3 separate regions of the Homo sapiens genome follow, and all the other regions are linked to region 3. The links are contacts of gene promoters, found by promoter capture Hi-C in blood cells and fetal thymus (Javierre and others, 2016). All regions are on one chromosome and are shown on one strand. The core of a region is centred on a gene start or on the middle of the fragment in contact, and the rest is flanking DNA. Distances in the headings are between cores, read along the strand shown.

Region 1 (4,541 bases), core at 955-3,454, 760 kb after region 3:
AATGAAGAAAAAGACAAAATGCACCAGAAACCCATGTAAGTTCATAACTATAAATGAGGACAAATTATAATTCTGAGCTTCCTGGAAGTCTTGCAAAGAAGGAAACCAGTTAGGCTCTGCTGCTTTTATTACCCCCATGAAGAGGAGCACAGATATTCACTGAACATTTTCTAGGACGAAATTCTAAAAGGGATTTCACATCAAACCTTATATAGGAGAAAACCTTCTGGCAACACCTTCAACAGCAATTCTGCAAAAGACACAGACTCAAATGAACATATCTAATATGGATTCCTCCATGAAGACTGAGGCCAGCACATATGCCTCAGCTATCGCCTGGCATGTGGGCCAGGAGTGCTGAGGTAACATCACCAGACCTTTATTTTCTTGGGATTCCAGCTTTGTTTTGTGCCAGAGGACAGATAGGAGAGGAGCAGCAGGGACCAGCATGGCCTCCAACACCTGTCCCACCTAAGGGTCTCATCCCAGCCTCAGGCAAAGGCAGGCCAGAATGCTGAAGATTAAATCTCAGTGCACGTGCTCAACACGAAATCTCAGGCAGCAAAACTGTAGAGAATGTTGTAGGGAAATTTAGGTTTCATTGTTGGGAACCCCTATTCTTACAGAGGCAGGCCGTGAATAAGACAAAACACTTTGAACCTACCATACTCCCTCCTTGACAAGTCTTCGACTCAGCCATCTCTAAGATCTCTCCCAGCTCCCAGTTGTATGATTATTTGGGATTATTTCCCATGAGGATCACATCTCAAATGATATAAGAGACACCACTGGAATAGCAGAATTTATTTTACAGCCAGTTGTTGAAACCCCTGCCAGTGCTGCTGGCACCTGTGTGGGCTATTAACACACACGGCCCTGCCAGCCAGTGTGACCCTTGTGAGCTGCTTTGCCCACTCAGAGAATGGGTCACAGCCTCAGCCTCTGCTCTGCAGGGAAGACGTCAGGATGGGATTGACCCTGAATTCAGAGTTCAGAAGCAGACTTTTCCTTCTTAAAGCTTCAGCATCTTCCTTATAATGCCAGAACCCCGCTCCTGCCCCCCATGTCCTCCCTCTCCCTCCCGACAAGGGCACTGGTGCTATTTGGAGAGCTGGAAGGTAGTGTAATATCTAACTTTTTAGCCACAGTTTCAAATCAGAGCTGCAGACATGTGCCATTATTCTCTCACAAACTCATTCTCCGAGCTTTCGTAGCTCATTAAAGGAGGTAATGGAACCAATTTTGCAGCTATGGATGAGTTGGCCTCCTGCCAGATGAGACCTCGCTTCATTAAGTTCCAACCACATCCTGTCCTCTGTCTCACCCTGTCCATTTACCTCTCCTCCTCAGAGGCTCGGTTCCAAGGAGGGCGGCTCACATGATACCACTGACCCCAAACGTCCAGGCCCCAGGTAGGTGCTGAGGGAATGATGGAGTCAGGTGGGATTAGCGCTCCCTACAGGACAACAGTCTGTCCCTGGTGCTGGGCCAGTACTGTGCAGAGGCCACCTCACACAGTGGTCACCATAACCCAACAAGGATCAGCAGCGCCCTTCTACCTGTGGGGAAATGTCCTTCTGGGAGGTTAAGTGACTTGCCCAAAGTCACACAGCTGGGCAGTGAGAGTCAAGACTGGGGACCATGTATAGCTGCTTCACCCCTTTTCCATGCAGCTTCAAGGCTTGGAGCAGGCACTCATCCCCACAACACCAGCCTGGGGAAAGCAAACAGAGAAGGCCCTGCCACTCCTTCCGAGAGCTTGGCCCACGCCCCTGGTCTGGACCAGGCCCTGCTACTCGGTGGCTGTTACAACAATGGCAGATGTTCACGGAGCCCCGCCCTGTACCAGGCATGTCATACCCATTAGCTCTTGCCCTTCAACAACTGCATTGTTAGCCACCATTTTCAGATGAGGAAACTGAGGGTCAGGGAGGCTTTGTGGATTCTCTGGGTCACGTGGTTTGCACATGGCCACCACTGAGTCAGAGTTCTTTGGGAACCAGGATTCAACTGTACAGGCCTGCCCATGTACAGATCCCCTCCCAACTCCTGCAAACATGTACTGGCCCTGTCTGGGGGCTAGACCTGGACTGGGACTGGGAATGCTGCCATGGGCACTCTGTCCTCAAGGATTTAGGGGTCTATGGATGAGTCACTGCCAACTGGGATGCTTGATGATGACATCTACACCTGGGAAACTGGTCCTGGCTCCTTCCCTTCCCTTCTCCTTTCTTTCCAGAACCAGAACCTGGCAGAACAGGCAAGATGGAGAAGGCCAGCCCCTTCTGAGGGAACTCACAAGAAAGGAGGACCCCTAAACAACCACTCCCCTTCTAGGCCAAGGCCAGGACACCTGATGGGGGGCAGGGTGGCAGCTTGACAGGCTGGGAACCTCCACCTGACCACTTCTCACCAGAGTTCTTGGGAGGGGAGGGAGTAGCTGAGGTTCCAAGCCTAGTGTCTTCCCAGGAAGCTCTGGGACAGGATAGCCAACACAAATTTTGAAATCATCAAGTCTTAGGAAGACAAGATTCCTCCAATTTACTAAATTTTGATGGCCTCAGTTGGTCTGCTTCCCACCAGCCCCAGACAACCTGGAAACAAAGGCTGAAATGCTAAGTCTGGGGGATGGGAAGAGTGGAGGGAAATGCTTCTAGAAAGAGGGACCTGAGCGAGGCTCCCAGGAAGGAAGAGGGAAGAACAGTGGGAACGTGAGTGCTAGAGGGTCCCAGTGCCCCAGACCAGGGACCATGCACAGCAGGACTAGCTGCAGCCACAGGGGTCCAGGTCTATTCCCAACTCCCCTGTGGCCTTGGGCAGGCCATTCAGCCTCTCTGAGCCTCACAGGCCCAATCTGGAAAGTGGGGATAGTGCTAATACTCCTGTTCCCAGGGAGCCACAAGGAGGGAATGAGAGCACACACAAAGAGCTCAGATGAACTTGGTGTCCAGTGCACACTGAAGGTATTGGGGGCCATGATGGTATGGGTGAAAACAGTTCCTGGGTTTGCTTGGGGACCCCTGGCTTTAGGATTCCCCTGGGTCTTCCTGAAATGGCCTTACACTCCTCCCCTCCTTGTTTCCCAGAATTCAGGGAAAGCTAGGTGCAGCCTTGGGGACCTGGGGGAGGCAGAACCTCTCCAATTCAGCAGGTCACAGGAAATGGTCTCATATCCTCAGAGGGGCACAGCCAGACTGGGCTCTTCAAAGGTGGACCAAGAACCTTGAGTCCACGAATCCTGTTTTGCTGTGAAAGGCTCAATAAGGAAGGGGAAGACCCTCCAGGGTGGAGAGAGGGTGGCTGATCTTAGGGGAGCGACCCTGGGGAATGGGAACCAAGACTGAAAGAACAGAAACCCACAACAGGGAACTCACCCAGCTCTCAAGCTTGGTCAACTATAGGAGGGGGCCCATCTTCACTTCTTTGTGGCAGCCCCCTACTCTCCCAGGTGGCAGACACCTTTACACCCCTCGACAACTCTGCGCATCCTTTTGAACAATGTCCCTCCTGCAAAATGTGTGACCATGGCCAGTCCTTTCACCTTCCCAAGCCCCAGCTTGCATCTGTGAACTGGGCACCCACTCTCCTCCCACATGGCTCCTGTGTTATAGCTGGGGAAAGAGGCCCTGAGACAGCTATGGCCTCCTCCCCTCCCCCAGAGGTTCTACAGTGAGAAAGTGGCAGGATCACAACTCCCTCTGCCCCTGACAGGTGTGGGATCCCAGGATTCTGCCCACAGCCTTCCCACAGAGGGCCGGGGGAGGCCACAGAGACCACCTGTGAGCCCCCTGAGTACATACTCAGAAGATCCAGGTTCTGGTATCTTCCTTTAACTTCAAAGAGGAAAAGGGGATTTTTCTATCAAAATCAGCTACATAATCTGTGAAACTTTACCCTGGTTTTATTTCTTCTATGACAGTGTAAAAATAGGACATTTTCATCATAAGACTGGAACATTTTAGCAAACACAAGTGTTTTGTTGTAATCTCAGAAATAATGTCCCATCAGTGGTCTCTCTTCATGAAGAGACCCCACAGCAGCAATGAAATATGTGCCCCCAACTGGCCAGTTGTGTGGCAGTGATGCCCACATAGCTGACACAGGGTAACAAAGGGCCATACCACCCTCCCTAGCAGGGGTGGCCAGGGCAAGTGAGGTCACGCCTAGGTGACCCCTGCTGAAGCACTCAGCAGGCCAGGCCTCTGGCCAGCTCTGGAGAGAGGGGACCCAAAACTCTCCAGCTTTCAGAAGAATGACAGCTGGTCTCTCTCGCCTGGAGGAGATGTCACAGTGATGACAAAGGAATCAGAAGTGGGCGTGGGGAGATACACTGGCTCACCCCCAGAGGCATGGCACAGAGGCCCTAGGGAACCTTCCATCCCCACCCCCAACACTGACCTTCTATCTCATATCTGCTCAGCATCTCTCCCTCATCCTTTGGCTTCATTCATGTCTCTGCAGCTCCCCACACAGGCCTGGGTGAGTACAGGCAGCCATCGCTCTCCTCAGGCTCCTCCCAGGGGTAGCAGGGGCACTAGCCA
Region 2 (4,464 bases), core at 555-3,054, 710 kb after region 3:
ACAGCAAAGGAAAAAGAGTAAAGAGACAATCTACAGAATGGGAGAAAATATTTGCAAACTATTTATCTGATAAGGGACTAATATACAGAATATACAAGGAACTCAGCAGCAAAACCAAATAATCCCATTAAAAAGTAGGCAACAGGCTGGGCACAGTGGCTCATACCTGTAAACCCGCCACTCCCCAGGAGGGAGGGTCTCTTGAGGCCAGGAGCTCAAGACCAGCCTGAGTAAAATAGCAAGACCCAGTCTCTATAAAAAAAAAAAATTAAAAATTCGCTGGGCATGGTGGCATGGACCTGTTGTCCTAGCTACTGGAGAGGATGGCTTGAGCCCAGGAGTTCAAGGTTACCATGAGCTACGATCATGCCATAGCACACAAGCCTGGGTGACATAGCAAGACCTCGTCTTAAAAAAAAAAAAAAAAAAAAAAAAGCAGGGCACGGTGGCTCATGCCTGTAATCCCAGCACTTTGAGAGGTCAAGACGGGCAGATCACTTGAGGTCAGGAGCTCGAGACCGGCCTGGCCAATATGGTGAAACCCCGTCTCTACTAAAAATAGAAAAGAATTAGCCAGGTGTGGCGGCGCACACCTGTAATCCCAGCTACTCAGAAGGCTGAGACAGAAGAATCGCTTGAACCCAGGAAGCGAAGGTTGCAGTGAGCCGAGATCACCCCATTGCACTCCAACCTGGGCATCACGGCAAGACTCTGTCTAAAAAAAAAAAAAAAGAAAGAAAAAGAAAAAAATAGTCCAATACAGAAATAAAATTCCTTAAATATAACTATCCAGTTTAAATTGAAAACTGCAGAGTATGTCTTATCTTTCAAGCCACAGTCATATACTACTGACAATTCCTTTCAGAGGACACGGTGTAATAATACAATCTGTGGCTTAGAATCTCAAAGTCCTAGGTTCAAATCTCAACTCAGCACTTACTATCTAAAGTATCTTAGATCAGTTACTTAATTTCTCTCAGCTAAAGCTTCTTTCTCATCTGTTTAAAAAAGAGGGGAGAGGTGGTGATATAGTGTAAAGCTCAAGTAGAATCATGAATAAGGAAGTTCCCCATAAACACTAAACAAGACATCAAGCACATCCTCACTTTTCAGAACAAAATAAAGTCATAGGTCTATGAAATCTTTCCTACCCCTAGTGGATGATGTCTTTACCTCTAAAGGGGTATTGGGGCCCTTCCAGAGGTTGCAAAGGTTGGGCTTCCCTCACTGAATAAATAACTAAAGAGCACACTGTCTTCAGACTATTTTGGTGAGTTCTAGTCCATTTACCAACAGATTTACTCAAATTTTGTGAACACTAATTCTTCCAGATCTGGTTTCAAGGATCTATTTCCTCCCCACCTTCAGATTCTTTTCCTGCACCACAGGATCTTTACAAGTTTCTTTTAAGGACTCAGGATTTGTTTGTTTGTTTGTTTGTTTGTTTTTAAGTGCTTTTCTTCCCTATCTGGAGAAACCTAACCAAAAGGAAGTTAGGTAAAAATAATGCATAAAATACGCATTACTTTTTAAATAGGAAAAAATAAATATAACATTACAAAACTAAAATGTAAGGTCTTCAGATTGGTAATGAGAAAAATTTTTCATGTTCTACTAAGAGGGATTAATAAAAAATAAGCAATAAATGCCCTAAATTACTCAAAAATTTGCCTTAGCTGGGCACAGTGGCTCACAGGTATAATCCCAGTGACTTGGGAGGCTGAGGTGGGAGGATAGCTTGAAGCCAGCAGTTTGAGACAAGCCTGGGCAACATAGCAAGACCATGTCACTAAAAAAAATTTTTTTTAATTAAAATTTAAAAATTAGCCAGGCAAGGCTGGGCGCAGTGGTTCATGCCTGTAATCCCAGCACTTCGGGAGGCCGAGGCGAGCGGATCACAAGGTCAGGAGATTGAGGCCCTCCTGGCTAACATGGTGAAACCTCATCTCTACTAAAAATACAAAAACAAAATTAGCCGGGCATGGTGGCGGGCACCTGTAGTCCCAGCTACTCGGGAGGCTGAGGCAGGAGAATGGCATGAACCTGGGAGGCAGAGCTTGCAGTGAGCCGAGATCACGCCACTGCACTCCAGCCTGGACGACAGAGCAAGACTCCGTCTCAAAAAAAGAAAAAAAAAAATTAGGCAGGCAAGGTAGTAAACACCTGTAGTCCCAGCTACTTGGGAGACTGCTGCAGGGGGATCGCTTGAGCCCAGGAGTTCAAGGCTGCAGTAAGCTATGATCATGCCGCTGCACTCCAGCCTGGATGACAAGAGCAGGACCCCACCTCTCAAAAAAAAAAAATTGCCTAATGACAGCAGCAGAATAAACAAGATGACCTTCTGAAGCAGCTTCCACTTCTAAGACGTCAAACTAATACCTATGTACTCAAACCTTTACCACTTTTCTATTCAAGGAGTGTAATTACAAACATTTTTGTTTTAAAAACTGTTGGTGCTTGCTGCTCCTGCTGTTGCTCCTGTTAGAGGGTGAGAAAAGCATTTTCTTGGTTTTTGTATTCTATATTTGGTACTCTGGGTACAGTCAGTATAGGGAAAGACAGGTGTTTCACAAAAATAGCTGGATTTTTCTCACCTAATACACTTTAGAGCAGGAAGCTTCTTGGAAAGGTAGAATAAAGAATGGAAGGATGCAGGACTTTCCAAGCATTCATGGCAACAGAAAGGAAAGCAGAGATTCTCTAAGAGGGAAAGGGACATAAGAAGTCAAAACACGGGCGAACGGGTACAGTAAAGAACAGTACCTTACAGTACCACAAAAAGAAAGCAAGACAGTCAAGTATTTCACAAAATACTGCCCACTGCCAAGAAGAAAATTAAGAAAAATATACAATCGTTGAAGGACAAAAAAAAAAAAATTAACAACCTTTGGGATCCAGTTTCTTTATCTGTGTAATAATGATAACATTAAGACTACTCTGGGAATCGACATGGGGTTACCTAAGTGAGAGTCCCAGGCACACTGACAGGCCTATCACTGACCCTCAGAAAGGATAATGTCCTCCCCACTGCCTAAAATCACTCACAGAATATTACAATGGAAAGGGGGGCTCAGTCATCACCTCATCCTAAATGAATAAACCAAACAATTCAGTCATGTTATAACCTGTACAGAATTCCTATATTATAAAAAATTTAATAAGTATTACTACAGGATCTCAAAGCCTTATCAATGTCAAATACAAATGAACAGCTGCAGTGGAAAAAACCCTTTGTACTGCTGCAACAGGGGACTCCTTCCCTCACTAACATCAGGGCAAAAGGAGGCCCTCGAGGCCCTCCTCCACAAATTTCTCCAAATTGGTAGGAAGTAAGTGTAAGGGGTTTCCCTCCTTGCTATGTGATTATAGGTTGACAAACAAAGACACAAATCTGTGCTCCAAGTTAGTCATAAAAATCAAAGCTGAAACTCAAACATTTTCTCACAGGAAAATGATAATGGTTATATTTTCAAGCTAGCCCTCATAGCAATCAAATGATGCAGCAAAAATGCCGTTTTAATTGACTATTTTTCTCATAAGTATAATGTATAAGCTACTTTATAAAGTGGATTTTATGAAAAGTTCTAGAAGTGTAGCCCTAACATCCTTATGAAAAAAAATGTGTCCTGAGTTTTAAACAATTTACACAAAAACTTTTAGATCATAACTAAGGAAGGGACAGTGGAAGACTGTGAGATAAATAGAGAGTTGCTTGGTTTGGTAGAAAAGGCATCTAAGTTATGCTAAACCACAGCTGCTATGAAAATGTCTTCAGTGTAACTGTCTCTCTCATTTAGCAAGCATTAAGCTCTGCCCTGAGCCCAATGCTGTGGCCCTCCAAAGGGAATAACAATTTTTCTAAAGCTAAAAACACAATCCTAGGAATGCAAGAATTTCGTTGCATCTTGCTGGGAAAATCACACACCAAATCCTAGTGCTTTGAGATTCACATGTACCTATCTTGATTACCTTGCACTGGCTCTGTCTCAGAACACACTTAGTGTTATTAGTCTAAATACTAAGGGAAAAGAAGAAACTATTAAGCATTCAGCACGTTCTCATTTCACTTTCACAATCCTGTAAGATAGGTAAACATTATCCCCAATTTATACATTAATAAAATGACGTTAAATGATGTTAAATTACTTGCCCACACCACCAGTAAAGAGAAGCTAGGACTCTGAATTCCACTTTGTCCACTATTCAAGGGCTCCTCCCCCCACGCCCCCACCCCCGCCAAAATAGGGCTCCTCCCCCCTCCAAAAAAATCAATCATGGGGTGCCACTGGAGAGTTGACCACTCACATCAATTATTTGTTATTCTAGTTCAGCAGTTCTGGGAGCGAGTTATGGAGAAGATAAACCACCAACTCCTCACTTCACAGAATCAACTCAGTATTCAGGGAATACTCTAAGAGAAGGGGTAAAATGTCCCTAGAGGTGAATCCCAGCTCTTCGCATCAT
Region 3 (4,824 bases), core at 2,199-4,698:
AAACTGATGATGATGGACACACACACGGTTTAAGGCAGAAAAAACCATCAGTAGCTGCTGACCACAGGCCTTGCGCTCACCCCATCCCTTCCTTTGCATGGGCTCTACTCAGGCTTGTGTGGCAGCGTCCACAGCCCAAACTGAAGCTTGCCTGCTGTCAGCCAAGATAAAAATGAGTGTAAGTAGAGTCCAGACTGAGCCTGAAGAATTGAGAGGCCGAGAGTGACCCATGCAGCAGTGGTGCTGGAAGGATGACGTAGGGCATTCGTGTACATGCACTAGGGATGTCTTCGATTCTTTTAGCTTGATTGATTAAACCAGGACTCTGAACAGGTTTAAAAATCCATCCTCTGTCAAAGGTTTTACTGACAACTTTCCATACAGTTGGTCAAAAAATAAAAAAATACAGAACCACAGCAGACAGTATCTTGTACACTAGAAATCAACATAACCGGATTCCCTTCTCATCGTTTAAAAAAAAAAATCCCCCAAAATCTAAGAACTTAGTTTTGGTGGTGGACAGGACTTTGATCCCCACCCAAATGAACCAAAATAACCCAGGAGATAATTCAAACCAAAGTGGTAGGGTAGAGAGGGGATCAGATTTTAAAATAACTGCTTTTGTGACACAAACATGACGCTGGGAAAGACAGGCTTGGGCTAGGCAGTGTCTCTGACGATGACTATCACCATGTGTTCTTCTTCTAGCTTGCCCAATGTCCTTAGTGCTGACTGGAGGTACTGCTGGGAAAAGTCGCAGGGTGGGAAGGCGTAGAGCATGCCTGTGCCGTCTCTGCCCTTGGACCCCCCCACTGGCAAGCTGATCACCCCTGCGGCCTGCTTCTGTTTCAAGTAGGAGACCAGGTTCCTGAGAAGCCGCCTCTGCAGACCGGGCTCTACTGTGGGCATCCCCTCAGTGCCAAGCCCACTGGGGGTTGCCTGGGTGGCTAAGAGGACCGCATAGCCGTTGGGGCTCCCCTGCTTGATGCGTCGTGTGACCTCGTCAAGCTTGGGCTGGTCCAGTCGAAGGCGCTGGGCGATCTTCAGCTGGGTCAGCTTGCTCCCAGAAGTGTGGTCTTTGAGGAGACTGCTGATCACCCCCTGGTCCCCCTCTAGGATATGCATAGACGTGGGGAAGCAGCTGTTTTTCAACACCAGAAGCCCATTCCAACCCAGCTGTAGTGTCTGAGCGTACTCTGAAAGATTCTTCAGCTTTTTGGTCTCGTGTTTTGGCTCTTCCAGAGGCTTGGGCTCGGCCTCTGTGGTCCGGTGATTGCGCTCGCTGTCTCTTGCCTTCTTCCCGTGGGAAGAGTCTGCAGCCTCGTGGTGGTGGTGGTGGTGGCCCCGTTCCTCAGCCCCATGTCTGCTGTTGCTGAGGGAGTTGCTGCTGGACTCCTTGGTCCCTTCACTGGAGTGGTTCTCCTTGCGGCTGCGCTCAGGGGTGCGGTCGGAGCCCCGCTCTGACTGCTGCCCACTGCCCTTGGTCCTACTCCGTTCCTCATATGGTGAATGGGTTGTCCTCCCACGGTCACTGGAAAGGCTTCTCCGTTTCCGCCTCTCTTCCCAGGGCTTGGGCAAACCACGGTCTCCATCTGCCCCCCAACGCTCACCACTCCGGCTGCGCACTGAGCGACTGTAGCCCTCAAGGCTGTTTCGGCGGTCAGAGCTTTTACTGGGGCTGGTCCAGTCCCCTTCCAAAAAAGTCCGGTCTCGGTCTGAGTACAGAAGGTGTGGGGGCGTCCTGTCCCGCACCAGGTCGGCGTCCAGGTTGCGGTGCCGGGTGTATCCATCTGTGAGCAGCTCATAATGCACAGGGAGTGGCGAGGGCTGGTACTGCTGGGGGTACCGAGTCTCCTCTGCTTTGGCAAAATCCACGCGGAGCCTGCGGTCTGGTCCACCCAAGGGAAAACCCCTCATTTTAGCACAGGCGGCCTGGGCTGCGTCCAAGCTCTCGTACTGAATATAGGCAAAGCTATCTCCTTTGACGTGATCAATGGTCCGAATGCTCCCAAAGCGGTCAAACTCTCGGGCCAGAGCCGCCAGTGACGTGTTAGGTCCCAGGCCACCCACCCAGAGACGAGTGGTGGGGTTGGCCTTGCCATAGCCTATCTTAATGGGGTTGCGACCAATCACTCGGCCCGACATGGCCACCTTAGCCCTATGGGCCATGTCCAGGTTCTGGAACTTGAGGAAGGCATAGGCACCGCCCTGGCCACGGGCAGGCCTCTTGATGACCACCTCCTCGATGATGCCATATTTCTCGAAGGCCCTTCGCAGCTCCACCTCAGATACGCTGTGGTCCAGGTTACCAATGAAGAGGTTGCGCGTGGCCCGCTGGTCATCCTCGGGCATCAGGTCCTCCTCACACACAGCTGGGTAGCCATAGGGGCGCCCACGGTCGTCGTACAGCCCGTAGTAGTCCAGGGCCCGCTCCCGGGACAGTCCCACGGCGGCGGCAGCAGCGGCATCCAGGGCGAAGGCTGCGGCGGCGTGACGGGCACGGGGCTCCCGCAGGGGCGGGGCAGCGACGGGGGACAGCGAGCGCTGCTTGTACTGGTAGCCTCCGTGTAGCGGGAGGTAGCCGAGCGGGTCGGCGGGCGCGGGCGGCCCTGGGGGAGGCGTGGAAGCGGCGGCGCTGCTGCTGCTACTTCGCCGACTGCTCCCGCCGCCGCCACGCAGGTACACGGGCTCTACCTTGAGCGGGCGGTCGTAGAGCAGCAGCTGCCGGGCCAGGGCGTGCTGGCGGGCCTCGCGTGCGTCCTGTGGGTGCCGGAAATTCACGTAGGCCACACGGCCCAGCTCAGGCGTGTGCGACAGGCGGAGGCTGATCTCGCCGAAGCGCTTGAACTGGTGGAAGAGCCGGTCCTCGAGGTGCTCGGCGGGCAGCGCGGGGCTCAAGCTGCTGATGAGCAACGTCTTGTACTCAGGCGCGGCCGCGGATGAGCCGGGACACGCGGGCTCGGCCCCAGGCGGTGGCGGAGGCGGCGGCAGAGGAGACGCGCGGGGCGACATGCCGGAGGCGCCCGGGTCCCCCGAGGCCTTGCCGCCGCGTCCCCCGCCGCCAGCGCCGGAGCCCGAGGAGCGCCCGCTACTCGCGCGGTGATTCGCGTCCCCGGTGCCGCGGCCGTCGCGATGCCCGCCCCCGCCGCTTCCGCTGCCGCGGGGTTTGTCGCGGGCCCGCGCTGGAACCGGGTGCTTGGCGCCGCCAGAGGCCTTGTGCGCCGCCCGCCGCCCGCCCGCCTCCGCCTCCCGTTCGCGCTCCCGCGGACGCTTGGCGGACGATGACGAGCCGCGCCCGCTCGGGCTAGAGTCTCGCTCGCTCTGCCGCTTCATGGCGCTGGCGCGGCGGGCGGGCGGCCCGTAGGTTTCTCACAGCGGCGGCGGCGGAGGCGGCGGCCGAGGAGGCAGCGCCCCCGGCGCCGCCATCTTGGACAAAAGGACTCGGCGCGGCGGTGGCGGCGGGGCGGGGCGGGAGCGGCGCCGAGGGGCCGGGCATTGCGTTATCAAGGTGCGCCGTCCTGCCACGTGACTCTGCGGCGGGCGGAGCAAGACCCGCGCCGGGCCTGCCTCATCGCGCTGCGTCGCCCAGTGCCAGGTGACCCTGTGAGTGCTGGGTGAGTGGGACCGGCCGCGCGCTCTGGCGCCACCGCGCGGCCCGCATGGCCGATGCTTGAGGCTACGCGGAGTGTAGTGAACCCTGAGAGGCCGGCGAGACGACCTAACGCTTTGTGCTCCCAGCCGTGCTTTGCCGCTCTGGGTCCAGCTATCTCCTCTTGCAGGCACTGGAGCCCGCGCTGATTGGAGCAGGAGTGGCAGCTTCCATGGCCGTTGGGATCTGGGGCATTGACCCAGTCAGTGGTCTCTTTATGTAGTATCCCCTCAGTCCTAGGACTAGGCTTGAGCAAACCCCACATCACCCTCGTTGGCATCTCCTGCCTGGGATCCGGCGTTGACGGCGCCAAGGACTAATGCATGCCTATCCTTAGACCCTGCCCAGGACCCAAGGCCCACATTCTGCGCATTCTCCACGTGCAGGTTCACCTGCAGCAGTCCCCGAAAAGGCCGTGAGGACAATTGCTGTCACGCAGGTAATAACCGAAAGCAGAGACAAGCCTGCAGTTGCAGTTGATGGAGTTGGAATAGACTCTTTAACGCCACTCTTGGGTCCCACCCTCTTCTGTGGGCAGATAGCAGGCTGGAAAGGTAGGGCCGTAAGAGCCAAGGATGAAGAGGCCATATGCACAGATAGTGCCAGCAGTTATCACACCTTGCCACGCTGACCCCTCGCTGGCCAGTACCCTCCTGTTCATCACCTTCAGGACGACCTCTTCTCCCCAGGTGAGGTGAGGGAAAGGGTGCCCAGGTGCTCAAGCCCATTGAGGAAGCTTTCATTCTCCAAGGACAGTTGCTGGAGCCATGGTAGAACCTGACCCAATTTCTGGCACAGAATCCTTGCGATGGGGAAGAGCAGACCAAGTCATGCCCTCTTCGCACAAAGAGAAAGCAGCTCCTGGAGTAGCTCAGGCAGGTGCAGGGGGAAAGGTCTTGGAAGAAAGCAATGGGTTCCACAGCAGCAAGGCCTCCTACAGGCAAACTGAGCTTAGGAGACACAAGTGAAGTGATCTGAGGCAAGACCAATTACTTGGAAAGCACTGGTTCTTAGTCCGTCCTTTCAGGTGGTTTCTACAGGTGTCTTCATTGAGCCACAGCTCACACTAACAACTGGGTTTCCTAAGCACCAGTGCCACAGAGAGTGGCTTAAGAAGCAGACTCCAGCAAAACCCTGGACCTCAACTGTTAGACTAATCTAGGGTAAACAAAGGC

Evidence for each region. The method cuts DNA at HindIII sites, captures the fragments that hold promoters and counts their contacts. A CHiCAGO score of 5 or more calls a contact.
Region 1: a contact is called between a fragment that was not itself captured here and the fragment with the promoter of RBM15B in region 3, in 9 of 17 cell types (M1 macrophages, M0 macrophages, megakaryocytes and 6 more). The highest score is 9.8, in M1 macrophages.
Region 2: a fragment that was not itself captured here is called in contact with the fragment with the promoter of RBM15B in region 3 in 3 of 17 cell types (naive CD8 T cells, activated CD4 T cells and M1 macrophages); the score reaches 8.6 in naive CD8 T cells.

What each region holds. Positions count from the first base shown.
Region 1 is chr3:50,627,860-50,632,400 of GRCh38, reverse strand. All of the region lies in intron 2 of MAPKAPK3 (MAPK activated protein kinase 3), which reads right to left. Among named protein-coding and RNA genes, the nearest start is that of MAPKAPK3, 13 kb to the right of the region's middle. The HindIII fragment of the contact is 2,368 bases long and covers 1,021-3,388 here.
Region 2 is chr3:50,676,484-50,680,947 of GRCh38, reverse strand. The region is part of intron 1 of DOCK3 (dedicator of cytokinesis 3); the gene reads right to left. Among named protein-coding and RNA genes, the nearest start is that of MIR4787, 3.6 kb to the right of the region's middle. The HindIII fragment of the contact is 1,631 bases long and covers 989-2,619 here.
Region 3 is chr3:51,389,909-51,394,732 of GRCh38, reverse strand. RBM15B (RNA binding motif protein 15B) reads right to left here and starts at 3,448. Exons shown (of 1, transcript NM_013286.5): 1 at 1-3,448. The coding sequence starts at 3,333. The coding sequence ends at 661. RefSeq lists enhancers at 926-1,433, 1,434-1,939, 3,925-3,974 and silencers at 2,835-2,894, 3,005-3,084, 3,125-3,604. The HindIII fragment of the contact is 3,377 bases long and covers 1,011-4,387 here.